Regions from separate parts of the Homo sapiens genome. Here all the other regions are linked to region 1. Evidence: promoter capture Hi-C in 16 types of primary human blood cells and fetal thymus (Javierre and others, 2016). All regions are on one chromosome and are shown on one strand. Each heading gives the region's core, a stretch centred on a gene start or on the middle of the fragment in contact. The rest is flanking DNA. Distances are from core to core; before and after follow the strand shown. Region 1 has its middle 41 kb from the start of HSD3B1. Region 2 holds the start of REG4 (regenerating family member 4). Region 3 holds the start of ADAM30 (ADAM metallopeptidase domain 30).

Region 1 (3,512 bases), core at 816-3,315:
AATTCCATGCAGGAAACTCTCTAGAACCCAAGAGAATCCCTGAGGGCACCTGAAAAGGTTTGCATGCCTTACCAAACCGCCCTGAGCAGGGGAGAGAGAAGGAAAAATGCATTTAGCCTCCACCAGCTTCAGTGTCAATTTCCTTGAAGGTCTGTAGAACACACCTCCCATGGCTATATGTGTGCTGGTCATTCTGGTTATTCATAACCCTGCATTTCAACCTTTCAAATCACACAATGAAGCCATACCATAGGTTCCTGGGCAAGTAAAGAGAACAAGGGTGAGCTTCCCAGAAAATTTATCTCCTACTCAGCTCAAAAAGTAGAAGTCTACTATCCCACATCCCCAGATATAACTGCCTCTCCCTCCTTTTTTATCCATCTTTCCATTAAATCATATCCTTTCTTCCTTTATTCTTCCAACTCCTTAGCTTCTCCTTCCCTACATCTCCCCTTTTATCACTGGCCCTCGCATTCTTCTCAATTTCCCTGAGGAGAGGAGGCCAATAAAGACAAGTTTGGGGACTTCAGTGATGACATAGTCATTAATCAACCAAAGAAGCAACGGTCAAAAGAAACACTTTCAGGGGCATTAGGGACAGAGTTGAACTGAAGCGGGTGAGGAGGTTGCTGTGGGTCCAGAGTGTGGGAAGGGAAGCTGTCTCCCTCTGGACCTGGGTATATCACAGCCATGATGAGGGTCACACTCAACATCAAGATGGCTTCTTTCTTACACAGAAAATTTACAGATGATTAACCTCAAAGCACCAAGGGACAGGTGATCAGCACCAGCATCAGGGTGGAATGGCCCTAGGCAGTGGGGTAAAGTGAAAAATGGAACACCCCTCTTGCCCCATCCACTGAACAAAATGCAAGAGCCAGCACCTCTCCAGCTCTTGTAAGGCATGCCCACCATCCATATGTTTATGACAAATAGCATGGGAAGGATAGGAGGGTGGTGGAATCTGGGACAAGAGCCTTTCCCCCTGGTTTTTCAGCCTAGTGAAACCCCACTCCTATTGACCAATGAGGGCAATGTTCACAGAGAAGTGATGGGAAAGATTATACCTCCAATGGGCAGTGAGGGGTGATCACAGAAAGAGAGGAAGAAATTGGATGGGCCAGCAGTCTCAACTGGACAAGCACAAAGGCCTCGGAGTGTTGTGGCCAACAAAATGTGCCATCCCTTCTTACAACTGTGGGTGCCAGGCAGGCAGAGCTCCTGCACCAAGCAAGCCTCGCTGAACCTCACGCCATGCACCACACGGAGGCAGCAAGTCTCGGAGGGAAGAGCAAGGAAGCCTGACCCAGTGGGGATTTTTGGGTCCCTTTCCTCCATCTAGGTGGCTCTGCAGGGTACCTGGCAAGGGAATGAATGAAAACACAGGTAAGTTCTCAGCCACCGGCTTAAGGGCTAGGTGTATATGAATACAGACAATGGAGCTGAGCTGGTCACTGGGAAAAGCCACAGGAACCAGCGGGACTTAAATGAGGCCTTGAATTCCTGGGTCCAGACAGGGGGCACAGCATGGGCAGTGGTGCAGAGGAAGACGAGGGGCATAAGGAGGCCTCCCGTCTGCTGGGAAGCATGTATGGAGGGCAGATGAGGAGCTCAGGTACTTGACAAAAGTTTCCACCACCTGAGAGCCAGGCTCTGAGGGCCAGGATGGGGCTGGGAACCCGTGATGGCCTGCTGAGAACTGGCAGGAAAGTAGCCAGAGGCCAACTTTTATGTGAAATCTCTTGATTTCTAAATATTAGCAACTAACTCTAAATTTTAAAAAACAGCTCAAAGACCTGCTCCAAGAGAGGAATGCGTGGGCTAGTATTCAAAATGTATGTGTAATATTTTATTTCTTAAAAAGTAGGTGGTGAGATGTCAGCAGCAAATCTGTTCATTCTTGGTGAAAAGTCCCAAATATACATTATTATATCGTATTGTCACCTTTTCTGTATATTTAACATAGGTTATAATTTTTTAATAAATTAAATTTGGTGGGGAAAAAACATGCAAACTAACAAAACACATTCACAGGCTGGACCCAGGATTAAGAGCTCTGATTTTCCATTTCTGCTCCCAATCTAGTGGTCCAGTGGGGGAGATAAAATACAAGACATGTTAGGTGCTGTGCATAGTAAATATGCAGAGTGCCATAGAAAGGAAAATGCTTCTGAAGGATCCATTCCCACAGGGGACTCATGGGGTCCTTGCATTTTGGCTGGATATCAAAAGATGGGTAGGATTTCAACAGACAGGAATGTGAGTGAAATTATTCCAGGCAGAGGCAATGCAGTCTGCAAAGACCCAGGTGAGAAAGGGGTCCATTTTAAGCAGCAATGAGACCAGACCAGAAAGCCCAAGGCCAGGGGAGACATGGAAGATACACCTGAAAAAAATGATGGGCACAGGCAGGATCACCTGGGGTCATCCCTGGAGACACCGTGCCTGCTTCCTTCATTGCCCTCAGAGTAGGAATTCTGTGCCCCACACCCCCTTAAAGAAGACTTGACATTCAATTACTTCACATATAACATGGCTCATCTTCTCTCAAAAATTGGACTCTACAGGAAACGAATGTCTCCTTTAGCAATGAATATTGATGGTGATGCTAAAAGCTGGGACATCATTCACTCTGCAATGGGCATTGTTCAGCTGTCCCTGGAAGATTACCTTGGCAGCATGTTGTAGGATGGACTGAAAGAGATGAAGAGGATACTTGAAGAATTTAGGTAAGAAATGAAGGCCTGATTTATGTGTTGGTAACAAAACAGACTACAGGGGCAACTGCGGCAGGCCTGAGACAGAATGGCCGCTAGTTTAGACAGGACTGGGTGTGGGCACAGAATTCCCAAGCACACACTTTCTCAAGCCAGAAACCTGGATGGCAGCCCCCCACTCCGCCCACCTATCATTCAGTGCTACGAACTTTACCTCCACAACACCTCTTGAATATGTCGTCTTCCTCCCTGGTAACATCATTCCTACTCGTACCCCCAACAGGCCTCCTTGTCTTGGAGAATCACCCATGAAACCTATCCTCAGCAGTGTTGCCAGAGTTCTCTCCAAACTAGTCTCACCATGTCACTCCCTTCCTTAAAACCAACCAATAGGGGGAGCCCCAGGACTGTCAGGACGAGCCTGAGAGCCTTAGCAGAACATAGAGGGCCTCTGAAGCCCTGGGCCCTGCCTGACACTCCAGACTAATTCTCACCAATCCCTGCCCTGTCCCCAGATTCTCCTACTTTGTGCCTCAACAATTTTCCAAACTCAGCGCTTCCTGCATGCAGCATGCTTTTATATCCACCCAGGCCGGTGCATGGTGTTCCTTCCGCTTAAAGGGTGCCCAGCTCTCCTGCCAGCACATCCTTCCCAGCTCCTTATTTACTATCCAATATGTCTCATTTTACAGCCTCTGTGTCTTGTGCATATCGAGTTGCACTCTCACTGATTTTTCATTTATATATCCTGTTCCGCACCCCTACACTGCCGTGTCTTGAGGACAGTAACTCACC
Region 2 (3,296 bases), core at 389-2,888, 260 kb after region 1:
GCTCCCAGAGAATGCTTAATTTTGTCAAGTTTTTGGCTAATTTTGGTATATTAAAGAAGAACCTTAGTGTTTTAAAATATTTTATAATTACTAATGAAGTTGAACATCTTTTTATATAATGATTTGCTTTTAGTATTTGGTGAATTTTCATTTTACAGTTTTGCACATTTTTCTATTTCATTGTTTGTGAGATCTTTTTTGTATGTTTATTTGTGAGATCTTTTTTGTATGTTTATTGCCTTTCACGTGTTACTAATAGTATTTCTCAGTTTGTATTTTTCTCTTACTTATTATAATTTTTGCCATTCTGAAATTTTCAAAAATATTGTTATTTTTTATGTTTTTAAAAATAATTTTTAAATTTATATCAAAAGACTGGCCATTACTGTCACATAAGGTTAAAATATTTATCACTGTTCTATTTTCATCTGTCTGGGCTTTGTTTTAACATAAGTATGAAACTGAGTTCTGGATTTCCCTCCCAAATAATTCTTAAAATGAGTTAATTCATTGAATTCACATTTAATCATACTTTATGATTAAAAAATCTGAATATACAATCTAACTCTCAAATAATGGATTGCTTAAAGAGAATAATGTAAATGATGACTTTTCTGGAAAATCAATTCTGGGGTCCATCTGAACACTTTAAGGCAACATTAACTGAGAATGAGACAAAGCTTGGAGAGTGTGGATGTGACCTTCCCCACCCCTTACTTCTTTTTAAATCATTGCGTGAACCTTGCACTTTGCTAAACTTTCCTTCCAAAAGTAATAGTGTATTTTCAATGTCCTCAAACCCCTTTAAAACGCAAACAGAATTTCTCTGTCAAGGTGACCATCTGGGGGAAGGGAGAGGCAGCATCTTTTTTACTAATCTGTGAATAATTTTTAGTGAACTGATATTCATTGAATGTCTGCATGTCATGTTCATAAGTAAGCTGCACTGGGCCGGGTGTGGTGGCTCATGGCTGAAATCCCAGCACTTTGAGAGGCTGAGGCAGGTGGATCACCTGAGGTCAGGAGTTCAAGACCAGCCTGGCCAACATGGCACAACCCTGTCTCTATTAAAAAATACAAAAATTAGCTGGGCGTGGTGGCAAGTGCCTGTAATCACAGCTACTCAGGAGGCTGAGGCAGGAGAATCACTTGAACCTGGGAGGCAGAAGTTGCAGTGAGCCAAGATTGCACCATTGCTCTCCAGCCTGGGAGACAGAGCAAGACTCCATAAAAAAACAAAAACAAAAACAAAAACAGAAACAAAAACAAAAAACCTGCACTGTAGATCTCATGAATGCATGTTACAAATGAAGACACTGACACTTATGATTGAGTAACTTTTCTAAAGTTTCCCAGCTACCAGACTGCAGAGCCAAGATTTAACCCAACAGCTTGACACCAAAGCCAATGCTCTTTGCAGTGAAGGAAGAAAAGAAGGTAAATAATTTAAATCAAACAACACAGCAACAGAAAGCCTGACAAGCCTCACTAGAAATACAATTTGTCATTTCTGGCCTGGCTAATAGCTGACAGAGGAAAACAGATGTTTAAAGAAAGTCCCCCATCATCAACCGCGAGGAGGATTACCTGTTTGGCAACCAAGACTCTAAGGGCCCCTGCCTTCTTCAGTGTCTCCAGTGGTCCCAGTCAACGTTTCTGGAGCTTTTATATCTTCTTGCCTCAGGAATTAATAATCTTTACTTTAGTCACAAAGCGATAATATTATTTGAGAAAAACAATCCATCCATAAAAGTCTTATCTACAGTGAAAAAAATGAATCATATAAGAGACGGCTTCAGAATGTACGTAAGGTGTGCTTTGACTAGCCAGGAAAAGAACCTCTCCCTGTGTGCAAACAGAATCTTTTCTTCACATCACGTTATTAAAACTGACAACATCCTGTAATCTGTTATAAGCCCATCTTCCTCTCCCCTTATGTTACTTTTTCATGGCTGTCTTTTTATGCCTTGGTATGGTGGATTTCCTTTATTTCTCTTTTATTTCTAGAAGGATTTTCTGTCAGGGTCAGGAATAGGTTATGACCCATGCGGTGAGACTTGAGACCCACACACAGATTTTCCTTCCTAAAGCACCGACTCCACTCCTTCAACATGCGTGAGTTTCCTCAGAGATCTACTATTTGAGCTTCTCCCGCAGAACATGGATGATCATGTCAAAATAGCTTACATCAACAGAGTGTGTTACAATAACGGGTTTTCAGTGAAGTCATCAAATAAGATGCCAACAAAATCCTTGTGAGCAGCATAGGACACATATCCCCATTACACACTCAAGAAACCCAACCTTAAGAGAGATTAGAAACCTTCCGAGGTTCACAACACTGGTCAGCAGTGGACCTGGACACTGAACCTTGTCCTTCTGACTCCAAATATAGGTGTTTGCCAAAATACAGTTCTACTGAAAAATAGGCTATTTGAAAAGAGTAACAAGATTTTCTTTTCCAGTATAGATGGCAAAGGGTTAGGTTGTAGGTGCCAGAGATGACTCAACTTTAAACTACAGATTTAAGTCTGTAAAGGACCTTTATGTCTGGAAACTTTAAGTCTGGAAGGGACCATAGTAGTTATCAAATCTTACTCTTTTGTTCTACTGGTGAGGAAATTGAGGCCTAGAGAAACATTGTGACTAGTTTAATGCACAGACAGTTGTGGGTGAAGCTGATATCAGAAGCCAGCTTCCTTGCTCCCAGCTCACTGTTGTTTGGAAAATGCTACTCAACCTTTGTTATTAGATTTTTGCATCAGTTGTGTAAATTCATGGTAGGACATGAGAAAGTAATGCTTTCATGGTTCACAAAGAACATTTTAAAGAATCTCTCCCATCAGAATGTTTGACACAAACCTCTTTCTCTTTAGGCAGCTGGATGGGAATCATCATTGCTTCATGGCACAATGGCGTACAAAGATGTTAACTCCAAGCCTTTCAATTTCAGAAGTCCTGGTCCAGATGTAAGACAGAAAAGTTTTAACAAAATGGGTGATTAGATAGATCTCCTGTGTTTCCAGCAGCCATCCCAACCCTTAGTCTGCTATCCCCATGCCATTATCCAGATTTAAAGACTTGAGATGAGAGAGAAGAGAGTAGAACAGATTAGAAAACAAGATGTTCATAGGACTTTTAAGAGGTCTCTTACTGAACCCTCACATTGACTAGCTCCAAATTAAGGCATTGATAGGACTCACATAAACCTTTGAGATGTAAGAATGTAAAGGACCAGAAAATTGTCTGAATCAAAAAGGTCCACTGAATAGTAAGTTTATTTAAAAAAAAAAAGT
Region 3 (3,330 bases), core at 31-2,530, 350 kb after region 1:
TGCGTCCTGAGCCCATGATGCAATTAAGCCTACCCCTACATTGGCAGTATTGTTCATCATGTGACATTCCTACAGCATGACCCAGCTCATGAGCAGACCAGGTAGCAGGGGCAAGGATATTTGTATCTAGTAAAGTACTCACTGATCCAGCATATTCTAGAGAACACACTTTTCCAAACGACCATGCAAGAGCATCATTATATTTTCTTTGAAGATATAAATGTGCCCAATCTGATGACAGGCGAGCATTTAATACACTTTTTTTATATATTACAAATCTGCCTAAAACTTCAGCTAACTCTGGATATCCAACGCGTATTTTGTTAAAATCTGTCCATACTTCAAGAGCCTTTAAGTGTATCCTCATACGAACATCTTGAAAGTAGGTGTCCATAATCCCAGTCAAAAGAATGGCATCATGTATGACTTGAGAAAGATTGTTGTTCACAAACCTATACCTACTTTGATCAAAGAGTAGGATCAATTCCAAGTACTTTGGGTGTTTATAGGATCCAGGAAAGTCCCTTAGCCTCGCCTTATTCTCATAAGGGGCCATCTGCCATTCTATTTCATCATCACTTAAGCCACAAACCTGATTCCCAAACTGCTCTTTCTTCAGGAGATAGACGACATGTTCAAAACTGGGAGAGGCCTTGAGGGGCTCAATTTGGTAATGTTTGGCATCAATGTTAAATACACCTCGGAGACCCCCCATGCATGTGCTTATAGTAGCTTTAGAGTCCAGAGACTCTTTCACGGAGCCCATGTAGTTGCAGTCCTTTGGTATGTAAGGATGATCCTCCAGCAGTTCCCCATGTTCTGTGAAGGAGAAAACGCGCAGATGTCGGGGCAACAGAAGTCTCTTGGGCCACAAATGGAGGACGTGCTTCTTGCCTTTTAACTGCAGTAGGTAGGACACGGGACTGACCACACCCTGCACCTCTCCCCGGAAGCTCAGCTTCTCAGGAATGGTGACTTCATACGAGTCAAACTCCCCTTCAGGGTGAAAAATTACATCTTCGCCAAGAGACTTAAGGAGCATTGTCGGAACTAGTAGAAGGAGCAAACGGCATTGGGAGAGGAAGATCTGCACTGACCTCATGGTCTGTTCCCTACTCAGCCTCAGTTTGCTATTCAGTCCCTGCAACTCTGGCCTCGCGAGTCAGATTTCTGGGGGCCGCCGCTAGAGGCGCCTGAGCTCAAAACCCGGCTCCCCTGGCAGGGTTTCCGGGGGAGCCCGTAGCCTCCCAGGGCTCGGTCTAGCTGGCGTCCGCAATGCGCGCGTGACCTGTCCAACGCATCCAGTTCGTTTTCCGGGCCGTACCGTTGGGCGCAGGTGGAAGAAAGGAGGGAAACGTGGGCGAGAATAAAAGAGAAAAGAGGGGCTGTTGGCACGTGGGTTGGAGAGAGGGTAGAGAACACCATCGGAAATGGAGAAGGAATAGAGAAATAGGAAGAACAAAGGAGAACGTGTTAAAGGCTCACTGTATCTTTGCCTTTACTCTGTGTCTTTACACCTTAGGACACAGGTTGGAATCCGATGTTTTATGGGCCACTGTCCTAACTTCATTGTTGGACATTTCCCAGTTTTCCACTAGGGTTGCTTGTGGCAAAAGAAAGGAGCATCAGAACCAGCAAGAGTGGAAACAGCCTGAAAGTATCAGCGTAGACTCCACACCCCCAGCCCCACTCTGGGCAGTTCCTCTGTCTTCGGCTGCGGCTTCTTTTTAGAGAAGGCCCTGAACCTTAGTTGTGGGCCCAGGCAACAGAAAGGTCCTGAGCTCATTTTGCCTGGGAGTGCTTTCTGCTGTTTGTCTTTGGGGTGCCAGGGGTCAGTGTAATTTTTGTGTGTCCATGTGCAATGGTGGGAAGAACCTAGAAAAAGTGCCTGTTATAAGAGCAAACCCAAGTGCTTTCTGAGAAAGGTAGATAGCTGGTTATGTTCCTAGTCGAGCGATGAGGCTGACTCCACAAAGGAAGAAGCCTCTGGCTCAGAAAATGGAAGGGTTTATCGTCCGTAAAAGGGCAAATCGGAAGGTCATGAGGTGATTCTGAGGGATTCTGATAAGAGAGGAATATTTTCAGTTTTGTTCCTGGGAGATTCCATCTGGCTGAATTACAAGGAAAGGTTAAAAAGGAACAGGCTTGAGTCAGGGAGACTAGTTAAAAGCTCTTGTACCAAGCAATGTTGTCTGTTGGCAGAAAGCATGGCCTTAGGGCTGATAATAAGCAGTACTTATGGAAGACTGGCTCGTTTCATGCTACACACCCCGCTATGCTCTGCATAAATCAGCCCATTAAATCTTCACCATGACCCTAGGTTATAGGTACTACTATTATCACCCATACTTTGCACATGAGGACATGAAAACCGTACCATGGTTCAGAAGGTGGCGTCAGCTGAAGCAATCCCTGTGAACATTTAGGCAACTCTACCCGGAGCCTGTGTTCTTTACTAGTCAACTCTGTTGTCTCTTTAGGGAAGGACAAAAGTTGACAGCTCCAAGAGATTTAAAACCACTTAGACTCTGCTGGACTTAATGCTTGCATGGATTCTCCCAGAATGAAAGAGGCAAAAATGAAAAAGAATGTTGATGTTTCTGGCTTAGGTGTATGTGTGTGTCATGGTTCTAACCACTCAAAGAAGAAAAACATCAGAACAAATAGATTTAGATAAAGGAAATAAATATGAAAAGCTCTGCTTGCAAAATGTAGATTTCCAGGTGCCAGTAAAGGAGCATTGAAGAAGGGATTTCTCAACTGCAGACGAGTAGGCAGCATCCTCTGGGCTGAGATGCCTGAGTTGGAGCTGAACTGGAGTCCTCTGCACAGTGGTGCTGATTGAAGCCATAAAAGCTGATGATGATGCCTCATGGGATGGTGAGGAATGAGCAGAGAAAGACCAGGTTGGATCGCTCAGGAATAGTAGGATTTAAGGTCAGGCTGAAGGAAAGAAGCTTGCAATGACCTGTGAAGTAGTGGATATTGATATAAAAAGAAAGGCAGGGTAACAGGTGATTGCAGAAGCACTTCATGAACGATGTTATGACCAAAAGGTGAAATGCTGAGCAGAGTTCCAGAAACACTGCAATGAGCACAAAGGAGGTTATAGAAACTTTAGTGCAAACTGTTTCGGGGCACTGCTGATGAGCAAAGCCACATACCAGGAGGTTGGAACGTAAATTGGAGGTTAGAAAGAGGAGATCACAAACCTAGACTGCACTTTCAAGAAATTGGGTGAAGGAGAGAGAAAAGGTAAGAAAGTAGCTTGGGAACCATGTGGTAGAAAGAGGACTTGTTAGAGGAAAGAGTCCCTGCTGGAGCCTTGCT

Evidence for each region. The method cuts DNA at HindIII sites, captures the fragments that hold promoters and counts their contacts. A CHiCAGO score of 5 or more calls a contact.
Region 2: the fragment with the promoter of REG4 here is called in contact with a fragment that was not itself captured in region 1 in 1 of 17 cell types (M0 macrophages); the score reaches 5.7 in M0 macrophages.
Region 3: the fragment with the promoter of ADAM30 here is called in contact with a fragment that was not itself captured in region 1 in 1 of 17 cell types (M2 macrophages); the score reaches 5.7 in M2 macrophages.

The regions. Positions count from the first base shown.
Region 1 is chr1:119,546,709-119,550,220 of GRCh38, forward strand. No RefSeq gene overlaps it. Among named protein-coding and RNA genes, the nearest start is that of HSD3B1, 41 kb to the left of the region's middle. RefSeq lists an enhancer at 2,978-3,272. The HindIII fragment of the contact is 5,511 bases long and covers 1-3,512 here.
Region 2 is chr1:119,809,822-119,813,117 of GRCh38, forward strand. REG4 (regenerating family member 4) reads right to left here and starts at 1,639. Exons shown (of 6, transcript NM_032044.4): 1 at 1,588-1,639. The HindIII fragment of the contact is 5,277 bases long and covers 679-3,296 here.
Region 3 is chr1:119,895,235-119,898,564 of GRCh38, forward strand. ADAM30 (ADAM metallopeptidase domain 30) reads right to left here and starts at 1,281. Exons shown (of 1, transcript NM_021794.4): 1 at 1-1,281. The coding sequence starts at 1,102. The HindIII fragment of the contact is 9,342 bases long and covers 1-2,955 here.